5 separate regions of the Homo sapiens genome follow, and regions 2, 3, 4 and 5 are each linked to region 1. The links are contacts of gene promoters, found by promoter capture Hi-C in blood cells and fetal thymus (Javierre and others, 2016). All regions are on one chromosome and are shown on one strand. Each heading gives the region's core, a stretch centred on a gene start or on the middle of the fragment in contact. The rest is flanking DNA. Distances are from core to core; before and after follow the strand shown. Region 1 holds the start of MAST4 (microtubule associated serine/threonine kinase family member 4). Region 2 overlaps MAST4 (microtubule associated serine/threonine kinase family member 4). Region 3 overlaps MAST4 (microtubule associated serine/threonine kinase family member 4). Region 4 overlaps LOC105379003 (a long non-coding RNA gene). Region 5 overlaps LOC105379003 (a long non-coding RNA gene).

Region 1 (3,208 bases), core at 602-3,101:
GCTCTGGTGAATCAACCACGTAGGGGCTCAGATAAAGACCAGAACTCCTAAATAGGAAAGTAATTGTGAGGCCCGGGTTAAATTCGGACTGCCCCACTGTGCTCTCTCTTTAGCCTTGCTCTCACAACTTAGCTGCCACTAGACTTGACCTTTTGCCTCAGCAGGTCTTCATATCCCTGTGAATAATTCAGAAGCGTCACAATGAAAGCCTGACAACCGGAGTCCATTTTGCAGTATGGCTGTCTGAAGCAAGATAGACAAAACGTATTTCCTTCCCCTTCATCTTGAGGGGAGGAAACTGATCAGGACAAAGGTTGCTGTCCAATATGATGAAGCCCTCTGTGTGATGTATCACTTGTAAATACCATGATAGCATGAAAGGCTCATTAGCTGAAGGGGCTTTCAATTAGGGTCCTCCAGTTTTTAAGGACCTTTGGCAAGGCTGCTCTGACAAAGAGAAATCTAAGATGCTCAAGGACCTGCTACTGTTTTTCTGTAACTCTTTCCTCTTCTCCCTCACACATTTTTCCTGTATCACTTATCACAGCTTCTAAAATGGATAAGGGAGCTATATTATGCAGTATCAATCTCTCGCTTGACCATAAGCTGCTCAAGGGCAGGGGACCTGACTTATTAATCTTTGTATCCCCTGCACCTGGCACACATCTCCATCAACGTACATGGAACTGAGGCGGTTGAATTTACATCCCAGGTCACTGTGCCAGAGCTCAGAATGGGACTAGAGCTGAAGGCAAGAGAGGAATCATTTATTTCCCACTGCTGAGCTGAGTGCTGGCTTCCAAGGAAATTCCAGTCACCGGACAGGCAGCATCCTCCAGCCCCAGGGAAGGACTTAAGGGTACTCTATTGGTACCTTTAGTGAAAGTTCTTTCTCCTAGTTCTTAGAGGTAAGGAAAATGAAGCAACCTGTCCTGTATCCTGTTGGTTTACAACCCAGGGCTAGGAGAATGTACATTGGAAAGTGAATCCTTTTCATCCTCTGCTTAGCTGATCATACCGAGACAGACAATTTGAGTAGGACTACAGAGCTTGGTCCTAATTAAATACAAGGACATACTTTTTTATCTTCCTCCCTATCAAAAGGTTCAAGTCTCAGACTTAACTTTTTAGTTTACAAACAGAAATAAAGACAGGAAATAGTCTTTTAAAAACGCTCCGTGTATCCAAGCCAGGCACTTTGCTGATGCATTATATATATTTGCTCTAAGCCTGCCAAGACCAGTAGTAATGTAGCCATTTACAGTTGAGGAAACTGAGGCCCAAAGAGCTTAAACGGAAAAGCAGAGATTAGAGGTCACTCCCCTTTGGGTCCGCTCACTATACCACGAAGTTTCTGTCCTTTTCCTCCAACACGCTGGTGAGTCCGTGTGCGTGGGTGACTGTGTGTGTGTGGTTCCTTTTTTCCCTATAGAGCCCTCCTTCTTGTCCGTTTTCTTGATTCCACTTTTTGGAGACAAAGTCCAGTTCTTCTCCAAGGTCTCACCATCCGCTCGCCGTCTCCCTCTGACGTCCCAAGGACGGTCAGCCACTCCCCCGCTAAGTTCGGAGTCTCAGCCCTTGGCTCCGATTCTGGGCTCCGCCCCCACCCTCCGGGGACCCCCGCCTGGTCCCTGTCCCCTGCGCCCAGGCGCTCCAGCGGGACCACGGCCCGCGCCCGGGCCCCGCCTCCCCTACCTGAGGCCCTCATGGCCGGAGGCGTCGCAGCCTCCGCCCACCAGCGCGCCTGCCCTGCCATTGGCTCTGCGGGCTGCCCGTCTCCTTGCTCCGTCCCGGAGGCAGGTTTTGCAAGGAGAAGCCGCAGTACCCGCGGCTCGGGTGCAGCGCGGGAGCACAGTGGAGCGCAGATCGCGGACCCGAGCGGGCATGTCCCCGCGCGCGGGAGCCTCCGTTTGCGGCCGGGCCCGGGCGGCTGTGAACTTAGCAGCGGGCTCCTGCGGCCCCGTCACTGCCATGTAGTCGCTGGCGGGGCTCCCTGCAGCCCGGGAGCGGCAGTGCCAGTGAGCCTGAGCCCAGGAGCCCGCGTCTTCCCCGGGAGGCGCTGAGTGCGCGCCGCGCCCCCGCCGCTCGGGAGGCACTTTGGGCCAGACAGGGAAATGGGGGAGAAAGTTTCGGAGGCGCCAGAGCCGGTGCCCCGCGGCTGCAGTGGCCACGGCAGCCGGACTCCAGCCTCTGCGCTGGTCGCCGCGTCCTCTCCGGGTGCTTCCTCGGCCGAGTCCTCCTCGGGCTCAGAAACTCTGTCGGAGGAAGGGGAGCCCGGCGGCTTCTCCAGAGAGCATCAGCCGCCGCCGCCGCCGCCGTTGGGAGGCACCCTGGGCGCCCGGGCGCCCGCCGCGTGGGCTCCGGCAAGCGTGCTGCTGGAGCGCGGAGTCCTTGCGCTGCCGCCGCCGCTTCCCGGAGGAGCTGTGCCGCCCGCGCCCCGGGGCAGCAGCGCGTCCCAGGAGGAGCAGGACGAGGAGGTGGGCCTTTCCCCAGCTTGCCCACTCTGGGTTCCGGCAGCCGGGCGACCGTAGTTTCCCATCCTGCGCACAGGCAGTGGGCAGGAGAGCGCTGTGGCCTGGAGATAGGGAGGGACCCCAAGCGCTCTGCCCCGAGCACGGGACAACGATAGTTAGGAGCCCCCCTGTGGGTTATTGACTTCCCTGTGGCTGTTACCCCCGTGTGTGTGTCTCAGTGTGCTGCCTGATGGTGTGTTTTTAAAATGTCAGAGAAGCAAACTCCTTCGTGTTTGTATCTGACTTGGTTGATCTGTGAAAGGATGCGATCTGGACATCTGGCGTGTCCCCACAACTCACCTCTGATTCTCCAAAGTGGGCGTTGTTTCCCACCGAAGCGCTTGGGCCGAGGGGCAGGGAGTTGAGGGGGAGAAATGGTGCCTTGGGGGTAAGAGGCAGGAGTAGGGTGGGGGGCAGCGGTAGCCGCGGAGTTGCCTGCGGAGGTTTCAGTGGCGCCAGCCCCCTGGGATCGCCCGCGGGTGGTTTTGGCGCGTCCCCGCAGCGTCGGTCCTCTGGGAGAAGAGGACTCCCCGCGCTCCCTCGGTGGCGCTGGCGTGCGCGCCTGCAGCTCCCGTTCAGACTTGTTTCCAGCTTGTCCAGATGAACGCTTGTCACCAAACCGAGTACAGATCGTCTTACCTTTTGCGGGGCGGAGCGGGGTGGGGGATCTGTATCTGCCCAGTTTCCTGGAAGGA
Region 2 (3,212 bases), core at 88-2,587, 190 kb after region 1:
TTCAAACAACCCACACCTCTATGGTTGAGACCTGACACGCTCTTGTATCAATCCGTCCAACTGATTCCAGCTTTAATACAGACCTTTATTTATTGCCTCTAAATTTCTAGTCATGCCAGTAGAAAACATTTGATACATGTTTCAATAAGCATAGTAGAATTTTGGAAACATTTTTCCAAAGAACACAGAGCTAATCCAGTTTCAATTGTAACAACAAGCTCAATTTGGTATTAAAATAGAGCAGCCAGATTGCTAGGCAAGCTCACCTCTCATACAACAAATTAGAAATGGTATTATCCATTAATTTCCACCCTGTGTAGCTGAATAATGCCATTGACAGATGCTAATTTTCTTAAATTGTAGGCAGCAAATGATGCATGAATACGACAGCAACACACTTTTTAGAGGCTCTTGATAGTCATCAAAAAGTGAATTTATATAAAGTTTGATGTAATCACTATCAACTGTGTATCATGTTAGTGCCTTCTAATGACTGTCTTAAATCCATCTGTTGTCCTCTTTTCTCTATTAACACTAATGGGGGTCTAGGCAGGAATAAAATATCCCATGTGTTGTATTAACAGACCCTCCAATTTATAACATTCATATGATTCCTCAGGACAAGACCTACGCAAATAACGACATCTAAAATCTAACCCATCATTGCATTATAGGCATTTCATTGTATATGTATGTAAGTGCTTCCTAATTTTTTCCAGTGGTTTAACAAAATTTTATTTCTGCTCACTTTATAATTTAATGTGTGTTGGGTAGCTCTTGGTGTTTCTTATTTTTTAAGCTTATATTTATTGAGTGTTCATTCTATATTTTCTATTTTTAGATTTTACAACAGCCCTACAAGTTTGGCCCTGTTCTACTCAGGAACTTGAGGTTTGGAGAAGTTCATGTTATAAGTGATGGAATCAGTTTGGGAATTTAGAATAGGAACTCAGCAGTCTGACATTAAAGTCAACCACAACTAGAGCAATTAATTTTTACCATTACTGGCAAGGATCTCTCTATCCTGTTGGGCTTAAAGAAGGTGTTATATAAGAATATGGGCTAAGGACAGATCAGTTACTGGATGTCAAAGCCTTGTCTTTTGCGTTAGGCTGTTGAGGTAACAAAGGAATTGAGGGCACACCTTTGGTCTTGTTACCAAGATTGGACTTTCACGAGATGGCCACAAATAAAATGTACATAATCATGTTAAATTGAGTGATTTCAGAGAAGGATGAGATGGCATGCATGCTTGTTCTCAGTGGTCTCTGCTTGCTTTACAATATCCTGTGAGACGTAACAAAACTGCAGTATTGAAAGCGTGGCTCAGAGTGTGGGGAGAGAAAGGGCATGGCTCAGGTGTTCCTTTCTTTGTGTTCCCCAGCAATGGGTGCTGGTTCTGGATTCTGTTCAGAGTCCAACTTCTTATTGAACCATGCTTGGTCTCATTGAGCCAGGGTCCTAGCTTATGAATTTCCTGTACTGAGGCCTTACCTGGGAGTTATGCCTGCTTTGTTCTGCCCTCCCACTGGCAGGGAGCCTTTCCCAGTCCCTGTTGCCTTGACTTTGATGTTGAGATTCCTTGTGGTACCTCTTTGCTCCCATTCCCCATCAAATCTCTCCCCTGGCTCCTTGCTTTTCAACCTAGGACGTAGGAGTCCTCCACGATCACCCAGACCTCTGGGGTCCCTGACCTGGGCCATAGGAACTACCATCTTGAGGAGTTGAGGGAATGTGCTCCTGGCCAGTTTGCCATGCAAGAATACAAAACACATTTTTTGCTAGGAATTATTAAAAGTAATATTATAAAATATGTACAGAAATTAATAGAGAATAATTCTATACAACCCCATATACCTATCAGCCAGCTTTATCAAAGCTTAATATTTGCTACATTCTCCGGATACATTAAAAAATTTCTTATTAAATTTGTTAAAGCCACAAGTCAAAAACTTAATTCTTCATTTACACTTCTAAGTTGAAGTAGCAAACCCTGTTATTCCCTGCTGGTAATTTTTAAAATAATAAAATATGACAGATCTACCATACTCCTCCCTGCACCCACCCCTCATTTTTTCTGCCAGAGATGACTACAATTCTGAATTTGCTGTTTATCACTTACAAGAAGAAATATTAATTGTTTCAATATCTTTCAATATTATTCTTTTGTGTGTGTGTGACCCGGCCTAAGAACCCAGTTACCGTGTTTTATTCTGTTGCTGTGGTGGTGGTGGAGGATGCAGGTCTTACGATAATATGAAGTGTGACAGTACATTGACTGCTTTTCCATGTCCTAGGTGGAGTGACTAAGTGTATTATCTCCTTTCATCTTATCTGCCACTTTGTAAGGTATTATCCCCCTTTTAGAGATGGGAATATTGGGGGCTTGGAACTAAATAAGTTGCTCAACTGCATGTGACTGTAAAAACTGGGTTGCAGATTGAGCATAGCGGCTCATGCCTGTAATCCCAACACTTTGGGAGGCTTAGGCGGGTGGATCACTTGAGGCCAGGAGGCAGAGGTTGCAGTGAGCCGAGATTGTGCCATTGTACAACATGGTAAAACCCCGTCTCTACTAAAAACAAAAATTAGCTGGGCGTGGTGGTGCGTGCCTGTAATCCCAGCTACTTGGGAGGCTGAGGCAGGAGAATCGCTTGAACCTGGGAGGCAGAGGTTGCAGTGAGCTGAGATTGCGCCATTGTACTCCAGCCTGAGTGACAGAGTGAGACCCTGTCTCAAAAAACAAAACAAAACAAAAAACGCTAGGTTGCAGACCCATTTGTGCCTGATGCCAAGCCTGTGGTTTGAATCACTCTGCTCCCATCTTTCCAGGTGCTTTTCTCTTTATAAATAATATATGTTATTTTGTGATTTTTGTATAAATATAGAATCATTCTGTCTTAATTTATAACTTGTTCTTCACCTAAACATATGTGATGAATATTTTCCTGGGGTAGATGGGGCTTTCGAGTCAGAATCTTGATTTTTGCCCATTTGTGTAGCTGTATCCTCTTGCCTAGTTATGTACCTCTCTGGGTTTAGACTGGAGATAATCATACCTATCCCATACGATTGTTAGGATGTTGCAGTACCTGGTATATAATAAGGCCTCAATGTATTTTAGCTATTACTTTATACTTAAAAAGGAAGTTTAAGAAAATTATCTGTTCAGTGGTTTTCTTCCTTTTGAGACTTGATCAGTATTGTTCTAA
Region 3 (3,443 bases), core at 733-3,232, 170 kb after region 1:
TCTTCCTAGTCAAACCCACCCTCTACTTCCACCCTCAACTCCAAATCCTTGGCCCTAGGCAGCCATAGATCTGCTCTGTTATTATAGATTAGATAGACCTTATCAAGGGGTTTACATTAATGGAAGCAGAGTATCTACTCCTTTGGTCTGGATTCTTTTGCTCAGTGTGATGTTTTTAAGATTCACCCATGTTGTTGCGTGTGTTAGTAGCGTATGTTTAACTTTATAAAATTAGGTTCTAGTGTTCTATACTACTGTAGGATAACTGTAATTAACAAATATATATAATTTCAAATAGCTAGAGGAATGATATTGAATGTTCCCAACACAAAGAAATGATAAATGTTTGAGATATGATGAATATGCTAACTACCCTGATCTGATCGCTATACATTATATGATTGGAACATCACTAGTACCTCATGAATATGTATAAATTATTCTTTGTTAATAAAAATAAAATTAGAAAAGAAACTGCTAAACGGTTTTCTAAAATTGTGCCATTTTACATTCCTGACAGGTATGGATGAACGATCCAATTGCTGTGCGTTCTTGCTAACCTGTGGTATTGCCAGTTTTAAAAATTTTAGCCATTTTCAGTGTTACATAGATGTATCACATTGTGGGTTTCATTTATGTTTCCTTGGTGACTAGATAATCTAGAACACCTTTTCAAGTGCTTATTGGACAATTATTTGTGTCTCGTGAAGTATTGGTTCAATTCTTTCACCCCTTTTTAAATTTCATTGTTAAAATTGAGAAATTTTCAAATCCAGAAAACTCACAAATTATTTTTGACTGCAAAATACCCAAATTAAGATAAGTTAAAGCCTAGCTTTTAAAAGGTAACTCACCACTTAAAATTGTATGTTATTAACTATATACCACTGAAAGCTGGATTTCTGTTATTTCATCAGAGTACTTTTTCCTCTAGATATAAATATTTTCACGGAACTTTGTTTCTTAAAATCCCCAAACAGAGTTTTCTTTCTACATGATGGTCTTGTCTACCAGTTTAAAAATGGCCTGGAAAGTAAGTTGAATTACTCATTTTTTTTTTTTTTGGAGAACTATGGATTTTGACGTTTTGAAGATGAAATTTCTGGGAACAGAAGTGCTACTGCCACATGATTAGTGGAGTCTGGGACATCTGACCCTGTGTGCCACTCTGCTGGAACAAAAGGCCAAACTACCTCAGGCCAAGGGGGAGAAATTCATCAAAAAAACTGCTGCAGTTTAAGGCAAATCTTTTCCCTTGAGTTTACTGATGCTCTTCTAATGCTTGTTAGGATATTTTTCTTTGCTTTCATTTCATAAATGCAGACTATTTGCTTTTTAAAGTAGGAGATCCCAAAGATTATTCTCTTGTAGGTAAGAAAATTAAATCTTAAAGGTTAAAAGACTCATCCTTTTATTTATTAATTTCACTTAGGAAATTTACTTACCTTGATTCAACTATTTTTGATAGATAGGAGGGGCAGTAATTATTCTATCCATTTTTGCTAAAGCAGTTTACATAAAGCTTTAAAATAATGCAAGGGTATGGCTGTTGATCAGATATATGATCTCAAACATGAAATTTGGCCTTTAGCTTTGAAAATAAATAGCCGGACTTGATTCTCTTGTCATAATTTTAACAGCTCTAGCAAGTCAATCCTTAGACAATTAGTTCGCTACACAATTACTTTTGGTAACTAAGTCTTTGGTCAGATAATTTTTTTAAATGTTTAATAGTCCTTAGAAGAGCTAAAAAAAAAATCCATCGAACGTCAGCCTGTTTTTGAAGACAGTTCCTTGAAAATTATATTAGAATATGAAAAAAACATTTTTAATTGTTCCTCTGTATGGTTTAGCTGAAGATTTAATGAAATAATATACACAAAGCAGCTAGCCCAGGCAGCTGTTAGTATTATGTGCATAACTAATTGAATTTGGGGGGATTTGGAGTTGATGGGTGGCATGGGCTCATGGAAATGAGTTTGGTACCCTTATCGACTGGCTTGCTACTTGGTGTTAGGCACTGTGTTCATGTCAGGCTAGTGTCAGATGTTGGAGCACAGAGAAGACAGCATCTTCCCTGATCTTTAAAAAATGTGTTTTCCACTAGTTTTAGGTAACCAAATAATCACATGTGATCTCATCTTGGGACATACCCTGTTGCTAAACTTAAAATAAGTCTTACTGGTTTTTCCATCAGAGGCCCATGCCTGATCTAATCTGTTACTTAACAACTGACCACCTTCTCATTGTTTTACTTTGTTTTAATCCAAGGATCTTTTCTTTGGCAGCATTCTGCTTTCCTTAAAACAAAGATTTTTAGTTTATGGTTGGACAGTTTTGCCAACCAATTATCCTTGATAAGGTTCACTAAACTTTTAGCTTTTTGAAAGGAAGATCTGTGATCAATTTATATATTTATCCCTTATAATGATAGCTAATATTAAAAGCTTACTGTGTAGCAGGCATTGTGTTTAGGGAATTATATTTACTGGCTTATTTAATCCTTATAACATCTGTGTGTGTCTATGAGGGAGACACTGTTAGCTCATTTTACACATGAGAACACTGAGGCACAAGCAGGTTGAGTAACTTCCTTGAGGTCACAGTCCTCACAACAGAAGGCGAGGATTTGAACCCAGGCATCATGGCTCCAGAGTTCATGCTCACAACTGCTACACTGTTCCTAGCATAGTCAGTACCTAGTAGGTTTTAAATAAACTCTTAATTCCAGCAGTATTAACTGGAGTGAATCTTAGGTGGGAAAATTGTTCACTCAGTTAAAATTTGTGGTTGGCTCAATCTGTAGGGCTCCCAGTCGTTTAATTGTAAAAATAAAGTAAAACTAGGCAATTAGTACATATTTAAAACCTTAAAATTCACACATTGGTCGACCCAGAAATTTGACTTCTCAGAATTCATCACAAGGAAACAGTCATATGTCAAGAGAATTAACCTTAGTTATATATAAAGCAGTACCATTTATAATAATTAAAATTTCATATTATCTAAATAGCTGGCAAATGAATACTGCTTAAACATATTATGGTACGCACATAAAATGGAAAACAATTGTAAACATTAAAGGTCATATTATAAAAAATATGTTTTAATATTGAAAGAGACTCACAATATATTAATGTGAAATCCCATTGTTAAATGGTCTCATAGTGTCTCATACTACCTAAGACTTACTGTATTTGTAATTAAATAATTGTATACAGACGGTCCCCCACTTACTATGGTTTGGCTTTTGACTTTTCAACTTTATGATGAGTTTAGTGGGGTATGAAATGCATTATTGACTTAAGATATTTTTTACTTCTGATGGGTTTATCTGGATGTAACCCCACTGTAAGATGAGGAGCATCTGTCTTTACTGAGGAGGAGGAAAACAATTACTTTCTGCTAAGGAATTTTCTCAAATTGGAGTGATGGTTGAGTAG
Region 4 (3,340 bases), core at 791-3,290, 220 kb before region 1:
TTCTTCTTGCTACCTCTAATGTGACTGATTTCTATTCCTATGTTGGTATTATTTTAAATTTCTTCCAATACTTCTTCAGTTCATTTTAAAATTTCTTTTTATTCTTTCATCCTATAATCTTTGATTCTATGGTTTTTTTCTTTACTTTCTCCAAAGAACCTAAGTTCTGTTTCTTTATAAATAGAGTAAAAGAATATACAATTTCCTTATCTTTTCTGAAATGATTCTTTTTTGGAATAGGTTTTTTTTTTTTTAAACTGCTTTTTTGGGGTAGGTTTGTTTGTTACTTTTTAGGTACTCTCTTTACATTTTGCATCCTTTGTGCTAATATGTGAAGAGGACAAGTCTTTACAGGAGGATGTGATCAGGGAAAGCCATGGATGTTAACCTGGGAAATGTCTTATCAGAACTCTTTTTAGATTTCTCTTTCTCTACCCTGAGGACACATCTCACCCCAGTTTTCTGATCTTCCGCAGTTGGGGAGAGCAGATTATCCAGATAGGAGGTCATTGCTGCTCTCAATGCAGCTTCCAACTTACAACTGATTGCTTAAACCTTCTTTATAATAAAAATTCAAAAGTACCAAATGATATAGGTTGAAAAACAAGTCTACCCCTACACTTAGCCCCTTCCCCTGAGGTAACCACTCTTGCTAGTTTTGTGTGTATTCTTCTGGACAAAGAGTCTATAGATGTACAACTCTATAGATGTTCAAATAGTAGTACTGTATATATATGGTTGAGTTTTCTCACTTAACAGTGTATGCTAGCAATTGTTCCGTATTAGCATACATGTTATCTGTCCAGTCTTGTTAATGCCACAGGGTGTTCTTTTGGACTCACTCTCAGGGCTTACTGTTCAAGTTCAGGCATTCTCGGCCAGCAGAAGGTTTCCAAATGTTGAGGAGGAAATATCTTCATTTGTTTTAACTTTTTCCGTGTATTCTTCCACCTCATGAGTGGCTGGAGTTGCCAGGAACCCCTGGAGGCCTAGTGAGGGCCAGCCGTCCTCTTGTTTGCAGAAGATAAAAGGACAATCAGTAATCCCTGCTCATAACTACGCTCGTCCAAGCTTAAAATGCTAGACTAGGAGAAACTTGACTGTGATAGCTTGATGAAACAGGTATTAAATGCGAAAGAAGACTATGTAAGTAAATATGGTACTCTAGAGAGCTTTGTTTTCTCTCTAGTTCCCTTTCCTACAAGAGGGGATGAAAACCTTTAGATACCAAAATGTGTTCTGTTTTAGCATGTCAGAAGCTTGGCTTATACAGCTGGCTTCACTCTGTACCTAAAATGTTTTTCATGAAAACAATATAGTTATATCTGAAACTGGGACAAAAAACAAGTTAACGATATCAGATTGATTAAACAAATAGATTTAAGAAGGGCTGAGATAAGCCATCTGAAGTTTTAACCTCTACAGGAGAGGTTTTTTTTTTTTTTTTTAGATGCAGTCCCGCTCTGTCACCCAGGCTTTAGTGTAGTGGCGTGAACTCTGCTCACTGCAACTTCCAACTCCTGGGTTCAAGCGATTCTCTTGCCTCAGCCTCCCGAATAGCTGGGATTGCAGGCACGTGCCACCATGCCTGGCTAATTTTTTTTGTATTTTTAGTAGAGATGGGGTTTCACCATGTTGGCCAGGCTGGTCTTGAACTCCTGACCTCAGGTGATCTGCCCATCTCTGCCATCCAAAGTGCTGGGATTACAGGCATGAGCCACTGCGCCCAGCCGGGAGAGATTTTAAAAGCAAATCTTGGGTCTGATTTCCCAATTTACATCCATTCATGAGGATAGATAGAAATTTCTCCAGGGGGCTATTTGGAATGCGTTTCCTGGTGAGGTAGAAAGGACTCTTCCCTGTGGTGCTTTCAGCTGCAGGAGAATTCAGTATATTGTCTCCACACAAACCTTCTACACAGCCGTTGGTAACTCTTGTTGATCTGTTGGTTGTTGTGAGAATGGAAATATGGTTGGACATTCTTATTTAAAAGGATGTTTTGGCTAGGCACGGTGGCTCACACCTATAATCCCAGAAGTTTGGGAGGCTGAGGCTGGCGGATCACTTGAGATCAGAAGTTCGAGACCAGCCTGGCCAACATGGTGAAACGTCTCTACTAAAATACAAAAATTAGCTGGGCATGGTGGCGGGTGCCTGTAATCCCAGCTACTTGGGAGGCTGAGGCAGGAGAATTGCTTGAACCCAGGAGGCGGAGGTTGCAGTGAGCCGAGATTGCGCCACTGCACTCTAGCCTGGGCGACAGGGCAAGACTGTCTCAAAAATAAATAAATAAATAAATAAATAAGGATCTTTTATTACATGTATAATATGTGCTTATTATATTCCTGGCATTGTGCTAAGCATTTTATATACATTATCTCATTTAACTTTCACAAACAACATGATTAGATAGAGTCAGACACCTGGGATCAAGTTTTGACTCTGCCAGCCCTAATTCTTGGCAAGATTGTTTAACTTCTCTGACTTTCTTTTCACCTGTATAAGGTGGGGCTAGTGATAGCAGTCACCTGGACAGTTGGGAAAATTAAATGAGGTAATGCATGAAAAGCTCCCAGCAGAGTGCCTGGCGCCTAGTCAGCACTCATAAAATGTCTTTTTATATTTGTATTATTACTCTTATTACTCCCATTTTATAAATGAAGAAACTGGGGCCCATGCAAAGGGTGTCTTTTGCCATGTCACTGAGCCAGTAAAGTGGATCTAGGACCCAGACACTGGTCTGGCTGATGGTAGCGACTGACCTTTTACAGATGATACTGCCTGTCCTCTTCCACATATCTAACATCACCTCTCTGGGGCTCAAAGCTTTCTGGGGATACCCTGTGCCCTAACAAGACAACATGCATTTGAATCTCCTCATACAATAGATGCATTCTCAAAGACTGTATTCATGTTGAGTCCTGTTTTCCCTTGGCCTTCATTATATGAATAATTTTATGATTGTGCCTTTCTTTCTTGCTCAATATTTTCATTCAAAGACTCATGAACACATATGAATCTTAGTTTACTCTCTGGAATCTTAATTATTCTTTCAGAGTTTTTATCCATTTACTGCAAAATGTGCCTTAGCTAGAGTTACTCATAGGAGGAGCTCAGGAGCCATTCAATAAATATTGACTGTGACTAAGAGTCTCACTAACATGTGTCCCTCCACCAATTAGTTATTGCATTCCTAAAATGTTTTGCTTAGAACAAAAGATTGTTTTATGTAAGACCAAGTGGGTATTTACATGAGAGTATTGTTTTTGTTTTGATTTCTTTGAAGTATGCAACTAATTATATCTGGAGACAAGAAGACAGCTTTTTTTATTTTAATGTC
Region 5 (3,644 bases), core at 663-3,162, 250 kb before region 1:
GCACATCGTGGCTGTACAGTAGGATGATTTACTCACCTGACGATCTCCTCCACTGGGCTGTGAACCCTTGCAGGGAAGAACTACCATGTTGAGCTTTTGTGTCCAGCATCTGGTAGGGTGCCCTGGGCATATCCATGCTAGCAAGCTGGCATCATGGGATTGTGCGAAGCAATGCCTACCAAATTTCCGTTTAATACGTTACAGTTTTCAAGGCTTTGAGATATTTTGAACGTGAAATAATAAATGCTACTACATACCAAGTATTCCCTGACTTAAGTCAGGGCAGGAGCATGGAGCTAGATTTGGGAAATAATTCTGTCCCATGAATCTGCAGGTGAAACATAGATATGGGACAATTACCCTGTAACCCAGGCCAGGGTGATTTTTTAAATACCCAAATTTCTGGGAAATGGCTTCATTCTCTGCTTTAGTCTCAGGGGAGAATGGTTTGACTGTTGGTTTCTGAATCAGATATGGGCTGTACCATCCTGCTTTCCCATGGACAGAAACAGCCTGCTCTCTGGGTTCACCTTCTGAAGCCTGCAATAGAGAAAGGTAATAATGAGTCTCTTTTCTGTACCTGCCTCCCTACTCTCTTCCTCTGTCTTTTACCTTCTCCAGCCTCATCCATACATGAATGCCTGTAACCAAGACAGCAGCTTCCTGAGTGCCTCCAATTTCCCCAGCCTTTTGGGACCACCTTCCAGCTGACAGTGCAATAGAATGGCTTGAATCTTTTTCTTGGGAAGCCTAGTATTCCCCTAATATCTCCAAGAATTATGGATGTCTTTTGTTGCTTCTCTAGCTCCAAGTCCCTGCTTTTAGTGAATTCTTTCTTTATCTTTTCTCATTGTCTTTCCTCCTGTGTATACCGTCCGTTTCTGCACATCATCTCCCCTACAGGGGCACAGCCCCTTCCTTCTCCTTTAATTCCCAGGACAACCATACACAAAAAGCCATGACACCTGGCCGAATTTTGGGGTACTGACTTTACTGAGTACCATTGATTACATTGTCGTATCATAATAACAAATGGTTTTCACAAAGTCAGAGAAAAAAAACCAGATATTATTGGAGCTTCCTCATTTTCATTAGCTCTACTAACCATCATGTTGTTTTGGGTCTTCCAATTTCTTTCCTTCTTCACATCTCTTTTTCCCTTCCCTGAGTTGCTTTATTCCTCCCTTGCAGATTGCCTTTGGAAGCAGACTCAGGAGAAGGACGGGGAGGAGCTGAACTGAGCCAACCCCAGTTATTCTTCTGAAATTTGCCAATCATGGGGTACATTTGCGAAAAATAACTCCCAAGAAGAGGGATAAAAACCAGGGTGGAGAGAGGCCAGGAAAATTCTTCACTGGGAAACTATTCAAAACCTGTTGAAATGTGTTAGTTTCTCATTGTCTATTCTCAGCCCAGCCTGACAAGCTTTCATATCTAAATGTAAAATAGCCAAAAGGAGACTCTGTGATTTCCAGTGCTTCACTGCTCAGATAGTTTCATAAAGTGGATTCCTTCCGCACTTTAGCTGCCACTATCACTCTTTAGATGTTAAGTGTCACATGCCAGCCAGCAGGCAGCTCAAACCGTCACTGTTGGCTTCTGTTTTCATTTATTTCATGACAGCTGTCATTTAAAATCAACATTTATTGAGCACCTAATAATAGGTCTGGGGTAGGAATGGTGGAATATACAAATTTGATTAAGACATGCTCCAAGCCCTCAAGGGAGTCATGCTCTAGCAGAAAATAAACATAAGGTTGTGTTATGTCCTCTAAAGGGCTTTTGAAAAGATTACTGTATACTACCTGTGAAGTAGGGAAGGCAAATGATGACCTGACTTGAAGAATGACACAACAGAAACTCAGAGCTATGAAGTCACTGGTCCAGACTTTCACAGCAAAGAAATGATAGAACCAGAACTAGGACCTGTGGTTTTTGACTCCTGATCTACTCTCCTTCCTTGTATCATAGGCCCACGTTGGGTATATCACATTACCAGAAAGAGAAAAGAATGTTCCGAACGTTATTGGATTCCACATATGGAAGAAACTTACCAGCTCTTGGGAAAAAGAATATGTTGTGGCAGGCAGTAGCTTTCCTCTTTATCTTTTTTCTTAAGAGCTGGTGTCCAAATCCATCAGCCTCAATAAACCATATTGGGATGATTTTCAGGAGAATTGTACTTCAAGGGATGTTTAGCTTTTTCATGTTAGCTAGGTATAAATTCTTGTTTTATGAAAGTTGTTATCCTATTTATGGGTAGATTTCTAAGCAAATATTACTTATGAGAGCTGAATAAAAAATTGTTGACACCCCAGAGTTCAATAAACACTTACTGAAGGTACATAATTAGGCAAATTATATGATAAAGTCTATTTTGATATAATTTACTATTTCTTAAAGCTTATTTATCTTCTACTCGTTAAAGAAAACACAGTGAGGAAGTTGTGAACCATGAGTGTACAAAGTCTGTGAGGTGGTGAAGTCCTAGAAAACAGAGAGGCAGAGCAGACACTAAATCTATTTTCAACATCATCCGAATCAGATTTTCATAGTGAACTGTCATTTTCTTTATGCAAGGCTTTATACATTCCAGAACTGCTGTCAGCCATATTGAAATGTATGCGGACTCTCTCCAGAAACACAAAGCAGAGAAAGGAAGCAAACCTTCATGGCATTACTGAGCTGCTGAACAAACAGCTCTGGAAGACTGCCTTTTTCTGACTTGCTTCCTTATTGTTGGGTCAGGTTGATTTGAGGTTTTTGCATACTTGTAAAACAAAACACCAAAACAAAACAAAACACATTTCCCATTTTAATTGTCTCTTTTACTTTACTCTTTCATTAGCACAAATAAGTGAGAGTTGGACTATTCTGAGATTTCTGTCTCTGATAGTGTCAAAGTTCTTCTGTAGGACTGTACACAGATGATCCAAACATGCGTAGGTCTTTTCCTTGCTGTGATCACAGAAAAATCTATGAAGATTGTGTGTGTGTTAGTTTGTGGGAAAAAAGTCATGGTGATTGATGTAAATTAATCAGCCCCTAGCATGGTTCCTGGCATGGATGCTTGATAGTACTTATTGACTATAGATAAGTATTTATTGACTACTGGGCTATAGACCTCTGATAAATGTAGAATAAATTATTATCTCTCTCTTGAAACTATCACTATGATATTAAACACTTGTCTGCATATGGCTTGTGTGGTTTAAATATGTCTTGTCATATTACTCAGTATTATTTGATAAATAATAGGATTGTTGTTTGAGAAGAATAATAATCGTTACCATTTATTATTTTGTAGGTGTTAGGATCTGTGCTAAGTATTTTGTATATGTTGCTTCATTTCATCTTATTAGAATTCTATAAGGTAGGGATTATTATCCTCATCTTAAAAATGAGGAAATCGAGGCTTTCTTTTGGTGGAAAAGTTCTTAACATAATACATTCAAATGTACCAGTCTTTTTGTTTGTAATCAATCCTGTAAGTGTCTTCTTTAAGAAATCTTTCTCTACCTTAAGGTCTAAAATATATCCACCTTAATTTTCTTCTAAAAGTTTCAATTTTTTTTGACATGTAAGACTTTAATTCATCTGGGGTTGACTTTAACATGTGGGACCTTTGATCTTATTCCATACAG

What was found. The method cuts DNA at HindIII sites, captures the fragments that hold promoters and counts their contacts. A CHiCAGO score of 5 or more calls a contact.
Region 2: a fragment that was not itself captured here is called in contact with the fragment with the promoter of MAST4 in region 1 in 2 of 17 cell types (megakaryocytes and M2 macrophages); the score reaches 5.6 in megakaryocytes.
Region 3: a contact is called between a fragment that was not itself captured here and the fragment with the promoter of MAST4 in region 1, in 3 of 17 cell types (M2 macrophages, M1 macrophages and M0 macrophages). The highest score is 6.3, in M2 macrophages.
Region 4: a contact is called between a fragment that was not itself captured here and the fragment with the promoter of MAST4 in region 1, in 2 of 17 cell types (naive B cells and total B cells). The highest score is 6.3, in naive B cells.
Region 5: a fragment that was not itself captured here is called in contact with the fragment with the promoter of MAST4 in region 1 in 2 of 17 cell types (endothelial precursors and M0 macrophages); the score reaches 6.3 in endothelial precursors.

What each region holds. Positions count from the first base shown.
Region 1 is chr5:66,594,542-66,597,749 of GRCh38, forward strand. MAST4 (microtubule associated serine/threonine kinase family member 4) reads left to right here and starts at 1,852. Exons shown (of 29, transcript NM_001164664.2): 1 at 1,852-2,477. The coding sequence starts at 2,115. RefSeq lists silencers at 1,488-1,687, 2,298-2,437, 2,448-2,597. The HindIII fragment of the contact is 7,618 bases long and covers 1-3,208 here.
Region 2 is chr5:66,782,494-66,785,705 of GRCh38, forward strand. The region is part of intron 2 of MAST4 (microtubule associated serine/threonine kinase family member 4); the gene reads left to right. Among named protein-coding and RNA genes, the nearest start is that of MAST4, 190 kb to the left of the region's middle. The HindIII fragment of the contact is 1,080 bases long and covers 798-1,877 here.
Region 3 is chr5:66,760,512-66,763,954 of GRCh38, forward strand. All of the region lies in intron 2 of MAST4 (microtubule associated serine/threonine kinase family member 4), which reads left to right. Among named protein-coding and RNA genes, the nearest start is that of MAST4, 170 kb to the left of the region's middle. The HindIII fragment of the contact is 925 bases long and covers 1,521-2,445 here.
Region 4 is chr5:66,374,804-66,378,143 of GRCh38, forward strand. All of the region lies in intron 1 of LOC105379003 (a long non-coding RNA gene), which reads right to left. Among named protein-coding and RNA genes, the nearest start is that of LINC02229, 140 kb to the right of the region's middle. The HindIII fragment of the contact is 1,567 bases long and covers 1,258-2,824 here.
Region 5 is chr5:66,347,342-66,350,985 of GRCh38, forward strand. It overlaps LOC105379003 (a long non-coding RNA gene), which reads right to left. Exons shown (of 3, transcript XR_948380.3): 2 at 2,055-3,644; 3 at 90-540. Among named protein-coding and RNA genes, the nearest start is that of LINC02065, 140 kb to the left of the region's middle. The HindIII fragment of the contact is 978 bases long and covers 1,424-2,401 here.